Linked DNA regions of Homo sapiens: region 1 is linked to region 2. The links are contacts of gene promoters, found by promoter capture Hi-C in human tissues and cell types (Jung and others, 2019). All regions are on one chromosome and are shown on one strand. The core of a region is centred on a gene start or on the middle of the fragment in contact, and the rest is flanking DNA. Distances in the headings are between cores, read along the strand shown.

Region 1 (5,770 bases), core at 40-2,539, 300 kb after region 2:
ACCCATGTTCTCATTAAATCTGAGCCAAAATGATGATCCATGAAGATATTTCATGTTCTAGAACCCTTGTTATAGCACTGATACCCCATGTTGAAGTGCATGGAAATAGAGAAAAGTTGGCCCCAGAGCAATCCCAGCCAAAGGCCCTGTAGCAGGGTGTTTGATGCCAACCGGACCAATGCTAAAACCCTTTTGACTGGTGCCAAAGCCCAGCCCAACCTTGTGTGACTGCAGGTTTCTATCTTACTGCTCCTGAACGCAGGCCTATTTGTCAGCCTTGGTACTGTCTTTGCTCATGTTGAGTTCAATTTGGTGCATATTTACTGAAGAAGGGAATGTGAAAAGCAGGATAAAGGAAGTTGCCAAGCCAGGATGTGTCCATGTAAAGGCACATCATACTTTGGCCTGATTCACAGATACTCTGAGTGTAACTCCTCCGAAGAATAGTCATCCTTGAGGCAAGGGGAAGGGATTTTTGCCCCTTGTAAGTCATCACTGGCAACTGCAACCTCCACGCATCTCAGGGAGAGGCAGGTCCTGAAGTGGGATCAGGGCTTCAGGGAGGGACACAGGTGTGACCCCTTCCCCATTAGCTGCAGCACTCACAGCAGCTGGGGGATGGCAGCACCAGCTCTAAAGTGGATATGGCTGGGTCACTAGCAGTGTCTATGTCTGGTTTCCACTTTTTAAGAACGCATCATGCATCATGAGGTTGCCATGGAAGCTATGACACAGAAATTCTAAGCTGGAAGTGGCAATAACAACAGGGACACAGACATGTGACTGAGTGGCTCCAGGGCAATAATGTGCCGGAACAAGCTTATGCCAGCTCACAGGAGCTGATTGTTAAATTTTCAGGAACTTTGCAAGCCAGCTGTGAGAGACAGCCATCAGGAAACATTAAATTATATAAACTTACAATTAAATAATTACATTAAATGAAAAAGTAGAAATAACTCGAAACCCATCATTTTCTAATGATTTTCCTGTGTTTTACTATTATCTATGATCTTGAGGTTATTTACGTTCATAGTAGCTGTATGGTGGAAATGTAATATAATGGTCTCTCCTTCATCACATTGAGTGACATCATGTTGTCATCTTGAGATTGACCATGGCAGGGGAATTTACATCACAGAAATCAGAAAATGCTATACCTCAGGGGTTTTTTTCTTTCCAGTGAACCAGTTGTTAACTATTTACTAGCGCACCACTGATTCAGATGGACTCATTCTCCCCCTAATATGCACCAACGCACACAATAGCCGAATGCTTATCCATGGAGAGGTTCTTCCTGGGCAAGGATGGATGAGCAGCTTTTGTTTGCTCTTGGAGTTTTTTAAAGCTGAGTCTGAATAAGAAAAGGGGTTTCATTTCTCTCACTCCTACATCTTTGCAGGTAGGATTCACCTGGTCATAGCACTTGGTTCGTATGTAGCAGAGGGAACTTATGGCCCATGAAAATGTCTCAGGTACTTTTAATATTTTCCTTAAATGATGACTGTTCATCAATTTGTTTAAAATGCTCTCTTGTGTCTGAGAGGATATGGCACCACTTATTTCAGTCCCAGCTTCAATGAGGGGGTGAATGATGAGGACTTATTACAAGTCAGAAAGTCCCTAAGGAAATATAAGGAAAATATCATTTACTGCAGCTCCTAACACCTAAGAACTGAAGGAGTGAGTCCACTTGGGGCCCTGAGAAGGAACAAGATTTAATTATTAAGGCTATGTTATTTATAAAGCTTAATAGAGTAATTCTTTGTTGCTAATGAAGTCGTAGAGGACCCTTAAAAGGAAGCCTGCACAATTACATGTAAAACTGTGACAAATCTTGTATTTAGAAGCATACACCATCCCATCTGCCACTGTCAGATCCACTCTCCCAGGTCTACCCAGAGGAGGTGGGAGGCAGGAAGGCCACCCACCTCGGGCCTGGCCTCTCAGGTGTGCAGTTTGCAGACCTGAAATATAAAAGCTTATTTTAAACAGACAACTCCTCCAGCCCACTTCCCAGGGGTTCTGTGCTAATAAATTGGCATTAATAAGATAAACTAATTGGGGGTGGCCAGGCCCACAGGCTGGGTTCTCAGCTGCGACCTCCTGGCTCCATGCCCTACTCCTGCTGATCCTGCCAGCCAGCAGAAATTGTGTTGGGGGTGGAGGCAGGGGCAGGACAGGATAGAAACAGAGGAGTCTGGGGTCTGGGGTCTAGGGTCTAGAGACTGGAGCACAGTACCCCTGACTTGCTACAAAGTGAAGGCGAAGTCTCCTTTCCTTTTCCCCAGCTGGGTGGGTCTGGCCCAGTGCAGGAGACATCCTTAACCATTTGGACTTAACAGTTTCTTTAACAGAATAAAATAATAACCCACAGGAAGTGAAAAAGACCCTCAAGGTACAGGGACCACATTTTCCTGATAGAAAGCTGAGGTACTTCTGGTAGGTAATAGCTTAAAAAAAGAAAACTGAGACACTTTCTGTGACAAAAGATTTTCAGACATTTGCTATGTGCAAGAAGCAGTGTCAGAAAGACAATTTAGAGGCTGAAATGTTGCAATGGATAGGACATTTCCATGGTTTATTGAAAACAACAGAAAGACCATCATAAATCTTACCTTATCCAGAAAAATCAGTGGTTGCCATGATGGAGACCTTCTGTGGTTGCTACGTGAAGACAAATATTTTCTTTGGCTATATTTCAATAGCCAGCATGGTTATTTCTGTCTAATATGTTTATTTCTCCAGGAAATAATTCTAGCCAAGTAATGTCCATTTCAAGAAGGGAAACAGACACTAGTTTTTAGGCTGTGAGGACGTCAAACCTCTTTGTATTTCCCTTCTTCGGTCTGTTCATTCTCTCTATATTTGATGATACCTACGCATAGTCTGTTTACTTCATTTGACCCATATTTACTCATCGAGAGGCCATTCTTTACAATGTGTTTTCAGATGTTCTCATGCCTGTCTTAGACTATAAATGTCTGTGTAATTCTTTGATCAGCAGCTAGCACAGCAGCGGTCACAGTACTGCACACAGAGAGGTCCTTCATTCATACAGGCCCACTCTGAACAGTTGTGCAGGTCACGCACTGCATAACTTCAGCTGGGCCCATCATAATGTAGTCCAGTGCTGTTCAATAGAACTTTCTGCAATTATAGCAATGTTCTTTAATCTGTGTCATTTAATACAGTGGCCGCTAGGCACATGCAGCTCTTGTACACTTATAATGTGGTTAGTGTGACTGAAGAGCTGAATTTTTAATTTTAGTTAAATTTAAATAGTCACATGCGGCTAGTGGCTACTGTCATTGGATAGCACTGTCTATATTCATAGCAGCTCTGCTTTTATTCATACTTTTATTTATCATGCACTCATCCATAGCTTCAGCTATGAGCAGTGTATAGTGCTGGACCCTGTAGATACAATGAGAGGAAGATGGTCCCTGTTCTAGGAAACTTCCAGTTGGAAACGCAGTGCAGTAAGTGCTATGAGGGAAGCCCTTACTGTGTACACTGCTGCACAGATGAGAGGCTGAGTCTGGCAGAGGAAGAGTTTTTTGTTTTGTTTTGTTTTGTTTTTCACACCAGAGATGTTTAAGCTGAGTCTTCAGAAAGGAGTACATCACAAAGACAAAGTGAGTAAGGGCTTTCCGGAAAAGAGATTGTTTTAATATATTTTGTTTTGGGTTTTTTTTTTTTTTTTTTTTTTTAAGGACCAGAATGTCTCACTGTGTTGCCCAGGCTGGAGTGCAGTAGCTATTCACAAAAATGGTCATTGCACAATGAAGCCTCCAATACCTGGGGTCAAGCAATCCTCCCACCTCACCCTCTCAAGTAGCTGGGACTGTAGGCATGCGCCACCGCACCAGGCTTTTAATATGTTTTAACCATTTGATTAAGATGAAATGAATGCCTTTGTGGTTAGCTGGGCACAATCACTCTCAAGACTATTAACACAAATACGTTTGCAAGACAACTGCAAAAGGAAAAGCTCTTTTGATAAAGGTTTTCTAAATTCCAGGGTTCCCACCTGGGGAGGGACCATATTTCCCTGTCTAGGGACAGGATTATGAAGCAACCCACCTAGAAGACCAGTCCTCAAAGTCCTCCAGAAAGACAAGGTTTCATATGTTTATAGAGAGAGTTTGCAGTTGGGCTTTTCTTGCTGGTTGGCTCATTAGAAGTAAGAGAGAGAGAAATAGCTTATTTTACTACTATTGTTAATAAACAGGTATAGGCCTGATATGGTTTGGATCTGTGTTCCCACCCAAATCTCATGTCAAATTGTAATCCTCAATGTTTTAGGTGGGGCCTGGTGGGAGGGGATTAGATCATGAGAGTGGTTTCTCATGGTTTAACATCATCCTCCTTGGTGCTGTCATCGCGATAGTGAGATCTGGTTATTTAAAAGTATGTGGCACCTCCCCTTCACCTCTCTTCCTCCTGCTCTGGCCATGTGAAGATGCCTGCCCTTCTGCCATCAGTAAAATTCCCTGAGGCCTCCCCAGAAGCTGATACTGCCATGCTTCCTATACCACCTGAAGAACCATGAGCCAACTAAACCTCTTTTCTTTGTAAATTACCCAGTCTCAGGTATTTCTTTATAGCAATGACAGAACAGACTAATACAAGGCCTTTCATCATGGTAGAGAAAGACTCCAAAAATCCTACTCTTTCTAATATATTTATGCAGGTGAAATTCAAAGGTAGTCTTTAAAGGTGGAAACATGCTCTGTATAAAAGCAGACGGTGGGGCAGTTCCACCCTTTGCCTCCCTCACTCTTGGAGCAGGGACAGGTCTGATACCCAGGCCTAGAGTCAAGGCTGGTTAATGGCTATTCCAAAGCTTCTCTCTCCTCCTCTCTAACTTCCCCATTCACTGCCCCATCTCTCAAATTCCATTCCAGGAATGGAATTTCACCTACGTACAGTGGAAGACTAATTCTATGTAGCTTGGGGAGGTCTCTGCATCTGGAAGGTAAAAGCTCTAACACATGCACATTTCCAAGTGACTTCATAAACTGAGCTCTATGGCTGGCCCTTGGCAGTGGTGGGCAAGAGGCAACTCCCAAGGAGATTTTTATTTTTTAATTTCAAAGCGGGAAGTAAGAGAGCAGATGGAAAGATGCTCTCCAGCTTGGAGTTGGGCTGAGTGCTTCCTTTCCTTTGGCTACTCCCCAGCATGGGGGGAAGAAAATTCTAGGCACTTGAGAATGTGACAGGTGTTGGGGGGTGATGAGGACCTGCAGACAGCATGGGGTCTCCACATCTGCCACTGCTTTGGATCACCAGCATGTGTGCACTGGCCAAATGGGAGAAGGACCAGAGCCCTGTTCCTGGATCCCTCCCTCCTTCCCTTAATGCTGTGTGCAAATTGGGATGCAACTTTCCCCCTTGGCCTAGGGAGAGACTAGAAGATGCTGAGGGAGAGATGAGATAAGAGATCAAAGAGTCTAGTAGCTTCTTGGGGGACCTATGGGAAATTCCTAGTGGTTTTTCCCATTGGCTTTCACTGCACCTGTCTTCCTGCCCTCCTGCATTATGGGGGGGGCCTATATTCCTGGAACTTTCTAAAATTTGCCCCTCTACATTCCTTCTGAACATGCTACTCTGCTTGCTTTTCTGCATCCTCATCCACCTGCTTTGCTAGAGCTCAGCATGACTATCACTCTGCTCTTGTTCTTCCTCATGATAGTGACACAGGATTGTTCCCTTGACCCCCTTTGTGGGCAGGAACTGGAGTGGCTCATTTCACTCAGCCTGCTGATGG
Region 2 (6,198 bases), core at 715-3,214:
GATCCTCCCACCTTGGCCTCCCAAAGGGTTGGGATTACAGGTGTGAGCCACTGCACCTGGCCTCAACAAATACCTGTTGATCTCACACAAACTGAATTGCATGAACAGATCATATTCCAAGGCTCCAGGAGACATTAGGAAAGGATCCAAACTAACCAGATGCTATTTAAAAGTTACAAAAAAAAAATTCCTGTTGAAAGTTTTAAAAAATACTAATTGCACAAAAGGACAGGGGAAATAGTTGACAGTGGTTCACCTAAAAAAGCACCCTTGACCTTTTTTTTTTTTTTTTTGTGAGTGAGGTGGTTGCAGATTTCTATGAAAAAGAAGTTAATTCTTCAGCTCCTTAATGGAACCCTGGATCTCCCAGCTATGCAGGAGGTTATGCTAGAAGTAGAACAAAGCGGAATGTACAAATTTAAGGAAGGTTACTGCCCTGTGTTCTTTTGCATGGGTCTGTATCTAGCATTGGGAGCCAGGTTTTGTTGTTGCTTATTGGGAGAGATAAGAATGGTATATACACAAATAACTAAAAAAAAAATACGTGGTAAATGCTAAAAGACAGGTGCAAAGAACACTGAGATGGAGCTTTCTTGGGTTACACAGCCAGTTTTAATGTTTCCTAATATAGAAGAGCTTTCAACAAACCTCTCAGGCAGGCTGTCTTCAAATGACATTACTTCCCCCAAATACCTAATTTCATTTATTTCAGAACAACTCTAAATGTTAGAGGATTTTCTGAGCTTAAAAATACTGCCTTGTAATTTCTATTGGTTTTAGTTCTGCACTTTGGAGAAGAGAATAAGGCTCCGTTATTTCCAATATTATACTATTCAGTTATTTGAAGACAGCTTCCAATTTCTATGCTCAACCCTTTCCCTCTTTTTTTTTTTTTTTTTTTTTGAGATGCAGTTTCGCTCTTGTCGCCCAGGCTGGAGTGCAATGGCGCTATCTCGGCTCACTGCAACCTCCGCCACCCGGGTTCAAACGATTCTCCTGCCTCGGCCTCCTAAGTAGCTGGGATTACAGGTGACCGCCACCATGCCCCGCTAATTTTTTGTATTTTTAGTAGAAACGGGGGTTTCGCCATGTTGGGCAGGATGGTCTCGAACTGCTGACCTCAGGTGATCCGCCCGCCTCGGCCTCCCAAAGTGCGCTGGGATTACAGGGGAGAGCCACTGCGCCCGGCCTCCCTCGTTTATATGCAGGTTAAAAACTCCCTTGAGCCTTCAACTATTTCTTTTTCTTTTTTTTTTTTTTTTTTGAGGAGTTTCGCTCTTGTTGCCCAGGCTGGAATGGCGCTATCTCGGCTCACTGCAACCTCCGCCTCCCAAGTTCAAACGATTCTCCTGAGTAGCTGGGATTACAGGCATGCGCCACCACACCCGACTAATTTTGTATTTTTAGTAGAAACAGGGTTTCACCATATTGGTCAGACTGGTCTCGAACTCCTGACCTCAGGTGATCCGCCTGCCTTAGGCCTCCCAAAGTGCTGGGATTACAGGCGTGAGCCACAGCGGCTGGTGCTTTCAACTATTTATTTGACATGGCTTCAAGCTTCCTTGCCACCCTAGTGCCGCCATCGCTCCGTTTCCCTTCCCTACCACCCTTGGGGAGTAAGGGTGAGGACTGGGGAATGGCAGAGGAAGCGTAGTTTTTCCGAAGAGCTGAAGGCAGCCTGTGATTATGACCTTAGCTCTTCCTCTTCTCTGTTTTCTGATCTCCTAATACACGTCTGTAAATATCACAAGACCCTGCAAGTCCCTCACTTATTATCTCTTCAAATCTGACGACTTTCAACCGTTCGGGCCCCACGACTCTCTCCCCGGACTAGGATCTACTCTATGGTAGTGAGCTCAGCCTTTCTAGCTCTCTAGTCCTCCCATTGCTCCATCTATGGTTTCCGGAGGCCTCACCGGAAGCCCTCGTGTGAGGCCGTGTGGGAGGCCGGAAGTTGCGGCTTCATTACTCGCCATTTCAAAATGCTGCCGAGGCCCTAGGATCTGTGACTGCCACCCCTCCCCCCACCCGGGCTCGGCGGGGGAGCGACTCATGGAGCTGCCGTAAGGTGTGGCTCTTGGCCTTCGTCGGCGGGGTGCCGGGAGCGGGAGCTGGAGAGTGAGGAGCAGGCGGCCGTACCGCCAGTTGTGCGGGTAGCGGGCGGGAGGAGCTTGAGAGGTGGGTCGGGCGGCGTGGGGAAGGCCGCGCCAGGCGGAAGAAGGGCTCGGGGGGAGGGGAAGAGTTGTGGGATGAGGGCTCGCGGAAGATAAAAGTGGAGGTGGGGTGACGTGAAGTAACTTTGGCCAACAGGTGACAAACCTAAAGTCGACGTAGTTGGATTGAGTTTAACTGGACACAACATTTGAGGACTGTTGAGGCAATTTGGAGAAAGGAGGTGGGAGAGAGGGAACCGGGTAGAATGACATTGACGTGTCTTAAGTTTTTAAGTTAGTTTTTAGGTCTGCGGACAGTCTACCTTAGAGGCACTTGAGTGCTTGTTTGAAAATGCTTGTTTTGGCTTGGCGCGGTGGCTCACGCCTGTAATCCCAGCACTTCAGGAGGCCGAGGTGGGTGGATCTACCTGAGGACAGGAGTTCGAGACCAACCTGGCCAACCTGGTGAAACCCCGTCTCTAGTAAAAATACAAAAATATTAGATGTGTGTGGTGGCGCATGCCTGTAATCCTAGCTACTCGGGAGGCTGAGGCAGGAGAATCACTTGAATCCGTGGGCGGGGGTTGCAGTGAGTCGAGATCGCGCCACTGCACTCCAGCTTGGGCTACAGAGGGAGATTCCGTCTCAAAAAAAAAAAAAGAAAAAATGTTCGTTTTGGGGCCACACTGAAACCTACAGACAGTATCGAGATGGGGCTCAGAGAAATATATTTTAATGAGCACACCTCCCAGTGATTTTTGTATACCTTAAAGCTTGAAAACCACAGGTTTTTTTGGTTGTGTTTTTGTTTTGTTTTTGTTTTTTTTGAGTGGAGTTTCGCTCTTTTTGCCCAGGCTGGCGTGCAGTGGCGCGATCTTGGCTCACTGCAACTTCTGCCTCACGGGTTCAAGTGATTCTTCTGCCTCAGCCTCCCGGGTCGCTGGGATTACAGGTGTGCGCCACCACGCCTGGCTAATTTTGTGTTTTATTAGAGATGAGGTTTCACCAGGTTGGCCAGGCTGTTCTCGAACTCCAGACCTCAGGTGATCCGCCCACCTCGGCCTCCGAAAGTGTTGGGATTACAGGCGTGAGCCACCGTGCCCGGCCGAAAACCACAGTTTAAAAGCAACACCCGGAGAAAATGCTGCAGCTCTGTGCTGTTGGCACGTGGAACTAGTATCTGTCAAAGATACTTGGAACCTCTTGGTGTTAAGTATTACTGTATCTCAGTTTAGATTTAGTCTTCTCTCTCCTCATACATTTTTTTTTTAATAGATGGGATTTCGGCCAGGCCCAGTGGCTCACACCTTTAATCCCAGCACTTTGGGAGGCCAAGGGGGCAGGTTTGCTTGAGTCTCGGAGTTCGACACCAGCCTAGGCAACAAACTGAGCCCCATCTCTGCAAAAAATAAAAAAATCAGTGTCATAGAGCGAGCTTCCAGTCCCAGCTACCCAAGAGACTGAGGTGGGAGGATTGCTTGATCCCAGGAGGTAAAGGCTGCAGCAAGCCGGGATGGAGCTACTGCACTCTAGCTTAGGCGACAGCGCGAGAGCCTGTCTCAAAAAAAGAGATGAGGTCTCACTGTGTGCTCAGGCTGCAGTGCAGTGGCTATTCACAGGTGTGATCATTGCACACTACAGCCTGAAACTCCTGGACTCTAGGGATCCTCCTGCCTCAGCCCTCCGGAATAGCTGGGACTACAGGCACAGGCCACCGGCTGCAGTTGGTTTTTTAAGATTCTATAACAATCGTTAATCTTTAATTAAAGATTTAATCTTCCCAGTTTAATCTTCCCACTTTAATCTTCCCTGCCGTCCCAGGTCCTGTAGAACACCTACGTTCTGGATTTGACTTATTAACTGCTTGCTCTCCATTTTCCCTAGTAACTTGCAGTTAGTAGGTAGGTCTAGATTTGGATTATTTATCTTTTGGTCAGGAATACTTAATAGGTGTTGTGCTAGTTTCTTGTTGCTTCATAATCAAGTAGTATATGGTGTGTGAATGACCCTCTTTTAGTGATAAGGTTGGGGATGGTGGAATGGTCAGCCTACTCCACGTGTTTTCTTTCCACCCCAACCTTTCACTCAGATGGCTTTAGCATCCCCTACCCCTGCCACTGGAGTGAAGTGGTATGATCTTGGCTCACTGCAACCTCTGCCTTCTGGGTTCAAGCTATTCTTCTGCCGCAGCCACGCAAGTAGCTGGATTACAGGCGTTGTGCCACCACGCCCAGCTAATTTTTGTATTTTCAGTAGAGAGAGGTTTTCATTATGTTGGCCAGGCTGGTCTTGAACTCCTGGCCTCAATCTGCCTGCCTTGGCCTCCCAAAGTGCTGGGATTACAGGTGTGAGCCACTGCTTCTGGCCTGGAATCTCGTGATGACTGTTGAAGAGGTGACATTTAACCTGAGACTTGAAGGTTTAGGATGAATCAGTTTTGTACAAAACTCACAGTGCTCCAAATGAAGGGACGATTTGTGCAAAGGCCCTGTTTGAGAAACTAAAAGATCAGGGTGGCTGAGGCTCAAGATACGACTAAACAGTGCAAGATAAGAGTGAAAATGTGCTGAGGGGATAGACCACGTGTTTATCTTTACAGCAATAGCAAGCTGTTGAGCAGGGCCTGACACTATAGGATTTTTTTACTTTTTAAAATGCTTTTGGCAGGCTGGGCCAAGGTGGGCGGATCACCTGGTTGGGAGTTCGAGACCAGCCTGACCAACAAAAAGAAACCGCGTCTCTACTAAAAATATAAAGTTAAAGTTAGCTGGGCGTGATGGTGCATGCCTGTAATCCTAGCTACTCGGGAGGCTGAGGCAGGAGAATCGTTTGAACCCAGGAGGTGGAGGTTGCGGTGGACCAGGATCGCTCCATTGCACTCCAACCTGGGCAACAAGAGCGAAACTCCGTCTCAAAAAATATATGTATATGAAAAAGAAAAATACAGTGGTTGGATTAAAGAACATTGGCCTGGCATGGTGGCTCATGCCTGTAATCCCAGCACTTTGGGAGGCTGAAAAGGATTGCTTTAGCTCAGAATTTGAGACTAGCCTGGGGAACATTAAAAAAACTAGCTGGATTAGGTGGTACACGCCTGTAGTCCCAGCTACTCCAGAGGCTAAGGTGGGAGGCTTGCTTGAGCTGGGGAGGTTGAGGTTGCAGTAAGCCATGATCACGGCACTGCAGTCCAGCCTGGGCGACAGAGTGAGACCTTGTCTCAAAACATCTATATCTATTCTGTAATTTATTCCATCTGTAATGTTATGGAATCACAGATGGAATAAATAACAGAACGGATACAACTGAGGAATGAATTAGAATTCTAGAAGGAGAAAATCTAGAACAAAGAAAGAGAAAAATATAAACGAAAAACTAAGAGATAAGAAAGAACTACCATTTTAGGCTGGGCGCGGTGGCTTATGCCTGTAATCCCAGCACTTTGGGAGGCCGAGGCGGGCGGATCACGAGGTCAGGAGATCGAGACCATCCTGGCTAACATGGTGAAACCCCGTCTCTACTAAAAATACAAAAAATTAGCCAGGCGAGGTGGTGGACGCCTGTAGTCCCAGCTACGCGGGAGGCTGAGGCAGAAGAATGGCATGAACCCCGGGGGGTGGAGCCTGCAGTGAGGGGAGATCTCGCCACTGCACTCCAGCCTGTGCGACAGAGCGAGACTCCATCTCAAAAAAAAAAAAAAAAAAATGAATTTTGATATGACAGTAGGAATTAATCTATGTTAGTGGAACAAAATTTCCCAAATTACATGCAACATCCCTGCTTTTTTTTTTTTTTAATAATTAAGAGCAACTAAACTAAAAATACTTTTTAGGAATCCATTTTGATGCAGTAAAATGTATAAAAAGGAAAGCAAGGGAAATGAAAACAATAGGGTTCAGGATGATTATTATTGCAGGAAGGCAGCAAAATGGGATGGGGGATATTATCGTTAAATATAGGTTATGATCAGAGTCTTAGTTTGTGGAAGATTATTGCGTTAAAAATAATCCAGGCCAGGTGTGGTGGCTCATGCCTGTAATCCCAACAC

The links. Contacts are between HindIII fragments. The study calls those that stand out against the background at their distance.
Region 1: a fragment that was not itself captured here is called in contact with the fragment with the promoter of MDM4 in region 2 in 1 of the 25 tissues and cell types used here (dorsolateral prefrontal cortex).

The regions. Positions count from the first base shown.
Region 1 is chr1:204,818,947-204,824,716 of GRCh38, forward strand. No RefSeq gene overlaps it. Among named protein-coding and RNA genes, the nearest start is that of NFASC, 6.8 kb to the right of the region's middle. The HindIII fragment of the contact is 4,246 bases long and covers 1-3,412 here.
Region 2 is chr1:204,514,442-204,520,639 of GRCh38, forward strand. MDM4 (MDM4 regulator of p53) reads left to right here and starts at 1,965. Exons shown (of 11, transcript NM_002393.5): 1 at 1,965-2,068. RefSeq lists enhancers at 447-1,358, 1,219-2,418, 1,359-2,269, 1,708-1,837, 1,848-1,927 and 1 more. The HindIII fragment of the contact is 11,632 bases long and covers 1-6,198 here.